Linked DNA regions of Homo sapiens: region 1 is linked to region 2. The links are contacts of gene promoters, found by promoter capture Hi-C in blood cells and fetal thymus (Javierre and others, 2016). All regions are on one chromosome and are shown on one strand. The core of a region is centred on a gene start or on the middle of the fragment in contact, and the rest is flanking DNA. Distances in the headings are between cores, read along the strand shown. Region 1 holds the start of KICS2 (KICSTOR subunit 2). Region 2 holds the start of TWF1 (twinfilin actin binding protein 1).

Region 1 (3,958 bases), core at 540-3,039, about 20 Mb before region 2:
AAAAATCTTCCTTGAAGCTGGGCGCAGTGGCTCATGCCTGTAATCCCAGCACTTTGGGAGTCCGAGGCGGGCAGACCATTTGAAGTCAGGATTTTAAGACCAGCCTGGCCAACATGGTGTAAACCCCAATTCTGTTAAAAATACGAAAATTAGCCAGGTGTGGTGGCACTGGCCTGTAATCCCAGCTACTCCAGAGGCTGAGGCAGGAGAATCACTAAAGCCTGGAAAGCGGAGGTTGCGGTGAGCCGAGGTCATGCCACTGCACTCCAGCCTGGGGAAAACTCCAGCCTGGGGGAAAGAGTGAGACCCTGTCCAAAAACAAAACAAAATAAAACAACCAAAAAAAAAAAAAACTGCCTTGTATCATTGTTAACAGGGTTGATCTTATCCAATTACATTCTTGAGTATAGGGAACAGGTGCACAATACCTATTCATTAAAATTAGATTAGTGGGATTTCCTTTAAAAGGTAGTGATGATGGCAGAACAGCTCTAGTTTGAGAAAAAACGAAAATAGGCAATTCTCTCATTTGTTCAACAAACATGGCTGCGCCGTCCAATATGAAAAGATTATAACTGTAAGTGAACCCTACTGTACCCTAGGGATCTCACCACTTGGGGAAAGAGATATGTAAATATATGCGATTAAATAGTGTGACTAAGAAGCATAAAATAAGTATGCACAAAGAAGAAAGGAAAAAACTATTGAGTAGTGGGTAGTGTTTCAAAGTAGTGGACATACAAGTATGAGCCGGGTTCATGGGGTTTCTTAAATGCCAAAGGAACTTGTAATTATTCTAAATGACAACGTGCACAATTTACATTAATGTATTCTTCATTCTGGCCAGGGGTGGTGGCTCACACCTGTAATCCCAAAACTTTGGGAGGCTGAGGTGGGAAGATTGCTTGAGCCAGGAGTTTGAGACCAGCCTGGCTAACATGGTGAAACCCTGTTTCTATTAAAAATACGAAAATTAGCCAGGTGTGGTGGCGCTGGCCTGTAATCCCAGCTACTAGGGAGGTTGAGGCAGGAAAATCGTTTGAACTCGGGAGGTGGAGGCTGCAGTGGGCCGAGATCTCACCACTGCACTCCAGTCTGGGCGACAGAGCGAGACTCCGTCTCAAAAAAAAAGAAAAAAAAAAGATAACTTTTTAAGGAAGGTTAATGCAGTTTGGGCCAGGGGCTCTACTTATTAGTTGCAGGGCTAACACAGACCCGGGAGAACTAGAACGGGATACAGGTGAGAGTTAACCGGTGGTGTGTGATGTGATGAAAACTAGGCAATGGGAAGGAGATCAACCTTTACCCGTCAGTCTTCTAATCTCAGCAAATCACTTCCATGAGTTGGTGTAGAAGGTGTCAGGGCTGACTAGGGTCCCTGCTGTGAGTGTGGGCACAACTCCAGGCACTTCCCCATCTCCCAGCCGGCCCAGCGAGGTGCCTGGAGAGCCCAGGCCAGATGTTCTGGCCAGGGCTGACGTCACGTTTGCATGACGTCACCAGCGCTGACGAACCACACAGAGAGGGGCCTGTCAGCTCACCTCAGAGCGCAGGCAACTTCTTAGAGCGGGGAACTGGCCGCCTCCTATTCTACCTTGACGGTCCGAATAGTCAGAGCTACAGGAGCCGAAGCGCCGAAGGAGCTCAGCAACCGCTACCTCCCTCTTTCCTTGGCCCTTATCCGCGTCTTCTCTAAGGCCCAGGAGCGGTCCCGGCAGCGGCGCGCTCACGAGTCCGCCGGTGGAGGCGGTCACGCGCACGCACGCTTGTGCGCAAGCCCGTTCCCTCAGAACCCGGAAGTGCGAGGCCGAGGAGAGCCACGTGGGTCGAGCTGGGGCGCAGCTCGCATGGGGGAGTCTATCCCGCTGGCCGCCCCGGTCCCGGTGGAACAGGCGGTGCTGGAGACGTTCTTCTCTCACCTGGGTATCTTCTCTTACGACAAGGCTAAGGACAATGTGGAGAAGGAACGAGAGGCCAACAAGAGCGCGGGGGGCAGCTGGCTGTCGCTGCTGGCGGCCTTGGCGCACCTGGCCGCGGCCGAGAAGGTCTATCACAGCCTCACCTACCTGGGGCAGAAACTAGGTACCTCCGCCCCGCCCCCCGAGCCCCTTGAGGAGGAAGTAAAGGGGGTATATTCCCCAGTCGGCAGTGGCTTGGGTTTCCCGTCTCTGTGTCACTTCTAGTCGCAGGCTCGACTCGGCATTCCCAGATCTCCTCCCACCGTTCCTTTCCTTCCCTGGGCTTCCACAAGCCCCGCCCACCGGCCTGCGCTGCTGATAGATTGGCGAACTGGGTAGATGCTCTTTGCAGGGCTGTGACCCAAACCGAAGGGTTTGCCCTTTTGCCTCGTGCATGGATTGATGCCATAAATGAGAAGTTAACCAAACTATGTCTTCATTGTTTTAATTAGTGACGCTGCAGCCAGAAGAGCAAAACTTTGCAAAACAACCTAGTTCTATTACTGAACACTGTTGTGTGGCCTCTTAAGGTTAAGGCCCGAGAGTCACATTTAGAGTCCTACCCCGTCTTCATAGTCCCCCAATACATATTTAATGACTAAAGTAATAAATGAATATTGGGCAGGAAAGGCAAGAAATATGCCTAACACTAGCAAGAAGAGACTTAAGGGGAAAATGGTAAACACTCTTAGCACTTCATGTACATCTTGCCTCTGAAATAAGATTCAAGAGCTGATTCAACTGATTTTTACTAGTAGAAGCAATAAGTATAAGTAGATGAGAAGGAAATAATAGATGTAAAAGGCATGGAATATGCATACAAAATAATATTACTGCTTAATTATGACAAATAAATATATTTGAATCCTAGGGGTTTCAGAGTCAGTACTTTGACCTGTTTTAGACTCTTCAATTTTCAGAAGCGTGAGGTCTGATGTGAATGAAGGACACGTATATAAAATACAGAGAATAGAAATGTAAAATTGGTGTAGATTTCATTTTGATCCACCCCCCCCCGTTCCCTAACCAGCCCCCTACTTTCCTTATATTGCCTGAAGGTGACCATGTACATCTTATTGAGCTTTCAGTAAACACTCAAGAGACAGGGCTTCCTGAGTTCGTAATTGCTGTAGCAAGTATGTTGATTTATACATACTTATTTAGTATGCTAATTTATTAGCAAAAACTGGTCAGATAGTTTCACCTTATTTTTTTCCTCCCCTTTTTACAATGGCATTTCTCACAAATTTGCAGTTGCTGCTATGGTGTTATTATTCCCCTTTCTATAGATTAGCAAATTATATATGCAGTTATGTTGGGTAGATGATAGAGTCGAAACCAAAATATCTGCCCTTGTACTCTCAGATTGAGTTTGCATTCATATAACTTATTAAAAATGTGTATGAAAATTATAATTTATGTATAATATATACAGATATATGTTTTTTATATATGTGAAAATGGGGTGGATTCTAGCTGTAATACTGAAGGTAGGTAATATTTAGGCAGTTTCAGTTGTTTTTAGACTCCCCCACCTCAAAGAATGGTGACTGATTCAAGTGCCATGATTCTTTGCTTTTTTTTTTTATTAACTTATCCATGGAAATTTGATGAAAGCTGTGTACTTACTCTCCAGAAAAATATATATGTACATATAATTTTGCGTATAACCTGAGTGGGTTCAGTTGAATTTTCTAAAGTCTATTTATTGACTCCATTTAAAAAAATCTGCTACTCTAGTTTTAAGTTGAATGAGCCAGGTTTTTACGTAAACAGAACTGGCTGCCCTGTGTGTAAGAATGTGTGTATAAGATCTTCACTGTCTCTGACTTGGGTTCTGTAAAGTGGTCCTCAATGTGTAAATTGATTAGTTCTGCTTGAACCCCAGCTGGCATGGGTGAGCATGAGGACTATGCCTTGAAACTGACCTATACAACATTTGGTGCTGTGAAACATGCCCAGGCACTGTTACGTTCCTAGGTGGGCTCCTCATTTCTGAG
Region 2 (3,977 bases), core at 77-2,576:
TTGAGCAACGCCAACTTCCTTAAGCAATTTCCCCGAAGCACTAGGACATGAATCAGTCAAAATACTGCAAGTCAACTCTGCAATTTTCTCTCTGCTCAGCAATGTAGTCAAAAACTGGTAAATCAGGGTGAACCATTGTGTCAGGAAGAATTTGATTAGAATGAAACTCCTCCCTACATTTCTTAAATCCATACAAGTCATAAAACTCAGATTTAGTTTATTCCTGAATATGAGAATATGTCTGAAAAACAGAGCTCAGATAACAGGCAATAGAACATAACCTTGTTTGCTGTGATTCTTGTAAAGAAAAACAATTGCAGGCCTGTTCATCACTCATGAAAAATACATCGTATAGTACTGGAACAGTGATTAACTTGCACTTATATTATTGACCTGAATAAATTATTTCTTCATTAGCAGATTATAATTTTGTGTATGTGTCACTTCAAGGCCCTAAAAATAAGAACTAGCTTCCCACCTAGTAGCAGTAGAGAAGCAGTACCAAAAAAAAACCAAACCCCCCACAAAACTAACATTACCTTTCAGGAAGGAACTACATGTTTGTAAAAGCAGGAAAGGAAAAGATTTTTAAGTAATATCTGCTGCTACCTTACAAATCTGTCCAAGTGAATTTTGAATAATTACTGGATTAAATAATAAACTGCCAACCTAAAGCAGAGCAGGATTTGCAATGGTATAATCGACCACAGAGGGATACTCAAATCAGCTAATCTCTTAGTGGCTGTCTCTTTCCGGAGTGAAGAGAAAGATACACTGAGTCTCTAAATGTGTCCAGCTGAAAAGAAAAGTTAACAGTCTGAGATTAACTTAATTTAAAATCGTGGAAAAATTTGATGAGAGGCAGTCTATATTAATTCTTTCAAAACAATGGAGCAAGGAGAAGGCTTTTCTACACTAAACGGTATCGATTATAGGAAGAGTAAACCAAGAAAAATAATGTGCACATCTTTTTTAAGCTGGAAAATGCCTATTTGGTAAAATGATCACTTCCGTTTTTGAGCACCCCTTTGCTGAGGCAGCGAATGGCGGCGTCGGCGGGGTTGTCAGAGAGCAGACGTCGGAGCACTGAGCAGTCTAGATTCTGCGGCATGTCCCCCCCGGAAGAAGCGGGAGAGGCGGCGGCAAGAGCAGAAGCAGGACCCCAAGCAGAGAACTAGGATAGCGAGGCCGGGGGCTGGACCGCAGCCCGGCGGCCAGGAAGGGCGGCGGGGCGGCGGGGACGCTCGGGCACTCAGTCAACCTCACGGGGCGGGGCGGCCGCGGGTCGCGGGCGGATGACGCGCCGGGGCCGGCGGAGGAGCAGCCACTTCCTGGGGCCGCCGGCCGGGGCCGCTGGCTGCACTCAGCGCCGGAGCCGGGAGCTAGCGGCCGCCGCCATGTCCCACCAGACCGGCATCCAAGGTAACAGCGCCCGGCGCGACTCGCAGGGAAGGGGCTTCCGGGAGAGCCGGGAGAGCCGGGAGGGCTGCAGGACCGGCAGGGCTGGAGTCGGGCCGGGAGCTCCGGAAGTCGGTCTCGCGGGGCGAGCCGGGCCTCGGCGCCTCTCCGCGCTCCTGCTTCCCGGGCGCTGCCGGCCTGCGTCCTCCTCCAGCCCGGTCCCTGCTGCCGTCACGTTGCAGATTGATCCGAAATTCGGGGGAGCGAAGGAAATTGGCTTTCGAGGCGGCCTGGTTGAAGGGGGCGTGCCTTCCACCGTCCCCGACAGTCGCCCAACTTTCCCCCTTTTGGTCACGTAGGGAAGAGCTGGGACAGTGGAGGCGACTGGGGCTTCAGTACGCTGTCGAGAACCAGGCGAGTTTTCTTTTTCATGGTCCAAAGGAGAATATTACAGGACTTTGATTACAAAAAGAACCATGCCAGAATCTTTCTCACATCAGTAGGGGTGCTTCCCAAAACTCTCCCGCATTTTCTCTCCAAATAGGAAAATGAGAGTTATGTTCTGAGAAATCTCGAGTGTAAGCGTGTGTTTTGATCTTTTTCCTAGATACTCCCCAAGGGAAACTGATCTGTATGGTTGCATGTAATGCGTGCAGACAGTTCAATATGCAGTTATATCTGACCTCCATTATTTCCTGGTTTGAAATTGGGCAGCCTGCAGGTACTCACCTCATCAAGAGTCAAATAATATATCCCCGGGTTACTCGCGATCACTTAACGAGTTCTAGTGTAAACTCAAGCTCTTACTGTTAATAGCGAGTCTTTCTCCCAGATGAACACTTAATTGTATGTTTTATTCGTAAAGATTTTTGACACCACCGCACACATCCCCCTGCACGCACGCAGAAGCAAAATAGTCTCAAATCTGAAAACTTTGTTTTATTTATCCGCATTAATTTCGATATATAAATATGTAGTTATTGACTCTCATGCTTGAGCCTTATAGCAAGCACTACCTACTTACATAGTGGTTCTTGCTGCTAATAGACAACACAGGAACGAAATTAGAACGAAATTGAAGCTTTAATAGGAACACAAGGGTTAGTTATTAAATACATATTTATTCAATGAGTTTAATCTAGCTTTTGAGAAATGCAAGTTAGAAAAATATAACCAGAGTTAAGACTGAATGCATTTTATTGTCTTTTTCTTTAAACAAGTTAGGATATTTGATATATACTGTTGTTTTTAACGGGAAAATACAGAAAGTGAATTGATGAAGGAGTGTCTGTCATAAGCTTGAAACTGAATTAGAGAATGAAAGCAGGTTTTCAATATTTTTCAAAAGAGCAAGAAAAGTTTTTCAAAATTGTAATTTGCTCATTATTGGGTTTGAGTAACTTCAGTATATTCACCCCAGTGTTATTTCTGCACAGAATTATGTAGCTAAAACAGATTAGAATTATTAACATACTTTTAAAATGCTAATATTTATATTTCTTAATTGTATACAGTCTTCGTTATTTTATGCGGTAAAGTTTTATAATACTGATAATAAGGATGCTACATGCTCCAGATTTTTTCTTTGTATTCTAATTAACTTTTCCAATATAGATAGGAAAGTATTTATATGTAAGTATAAAAAGTTTACTTTCTTTATCTTTTTCCACAGCAAGTGAAGATGTTAAAGAGATCTTTGCCAGAGCCAGAAATGGAAAGTACAGACTTCTGAAAATATCTATTGAAAATGGTTAGTTAAATATTTTAAAATATTTTCTGTTCCTGGATTAGTGGCTGTTGTATTTTTAAACTTACTGTGTGTTGTCAGTGATTTGAACTATTAATTAATATGAAGCAAGTTCAAATCTTACGGTAACTTGGATTCCTCATATTTTGTGCAGGTCCCTATGGGCCCCTAATTTCATTCTGAATTATGTGACTATCAGGGAAACAGAAAGATGTTTTTTGATGTGACTTCTTCCTCTTTTACTTTTTGTGTCTCAGTTTCTGCACCACAGTCCATTTCTAATGTCAGTGCTTCCATCTCTGGAATGGAAATCACTAAACAGGTGATTATCAAAAAAAAAAAATAGTTACTTGTGAATTATTCAATTAAGTTTGTTTTTAAATATAAACAAAGGATATCAAACTCCCATTTTCTCCATTTGATTGCAACCTTTGCCACAGAAATGATCATTTCCCTTTCTTGTTTTGGGAAAGTTCTGAGAATATAACAAACTACAAATTGATTCTTTAAAAATAATTCTGTAAACAGGGAATCTGGTTGAGTGGGAGAATCTTTTAAATCAGGCAGATTTGAATTTGAACAATTATTGTTATAGGTACTCAGTCATAAATGAATATATTAAAATATTCCAGTGGCCTAATTTCTTAAATATCTGAAAATATTTTGCTTTGGAAAAGTAACTTGTTCTTTCACAAACTGGAAGTAAATCTAATTTGTTTTCTATTTTCTGCTTATATAAAAAATACCAGAATAGTTTGTAAAATATGCATTTGTTTACATACAACATTCAATAGGAATATATGTATATTGTAAAACAGCATATTTTAAAAAT

Evidence for each region. The method cuts DNA at HindIII sites, captures the fragments that hold promoters and counts their contacts. A CHiCAGO score of 5 or more calls a contact.
Region 1: a contact is called between the fragment with the promoter of KICS2 here and the fragment with the promoter of TWF1 in region 2, in 1 of 17 cell types (total B cells). The highest score is 7.2, in total B cells.

What each region holds. Positions count from the first base shown.
Region 1 is chr12:64,220,127-64,224,084 of GRCh38, reverse strand. KICS2 (KICSTOR subunit 2) reads left to right here and starts at 1,789. Exons shown (of 3, transcript NM_152440.5): 1 at 1,789-2,082. The coding sequence starts at 1,848. It overlaps LOC124902952 (a long non-coding RNA gene), which reads right to left and starts at 1,736. Exons shown (of 2, transcript XR_007063347.1): 1 at 1,542-1,736. RefSeq lists enhancers at 1,336-1,395, 1,476-1,665, 1,816-1,905, 1,387-1,981, 2,016-2,075 and 1 more. The HindIII fragment of the contact is 7,597 bases long and covers 1-3,958 here.
Region 2 is chr12:43,803,666-43,807,642 of GRCh38, reverse strand. TWF1 (twinfilin actin binding protein 1) reads left to right here and starts at 1,326. Exons shown (of 9, transcript NM_002822.5): 1 at 1,326-1,422; 2 at 3,071-3,148. The coding sequence starts at 1,398. It also overlaps a transcript of TMEM117 not described here. RefSeq lists a silencer at 1,151-1,630. The HindIII fragment of the contact is 5,668 bases long and covers 1-2,481 here.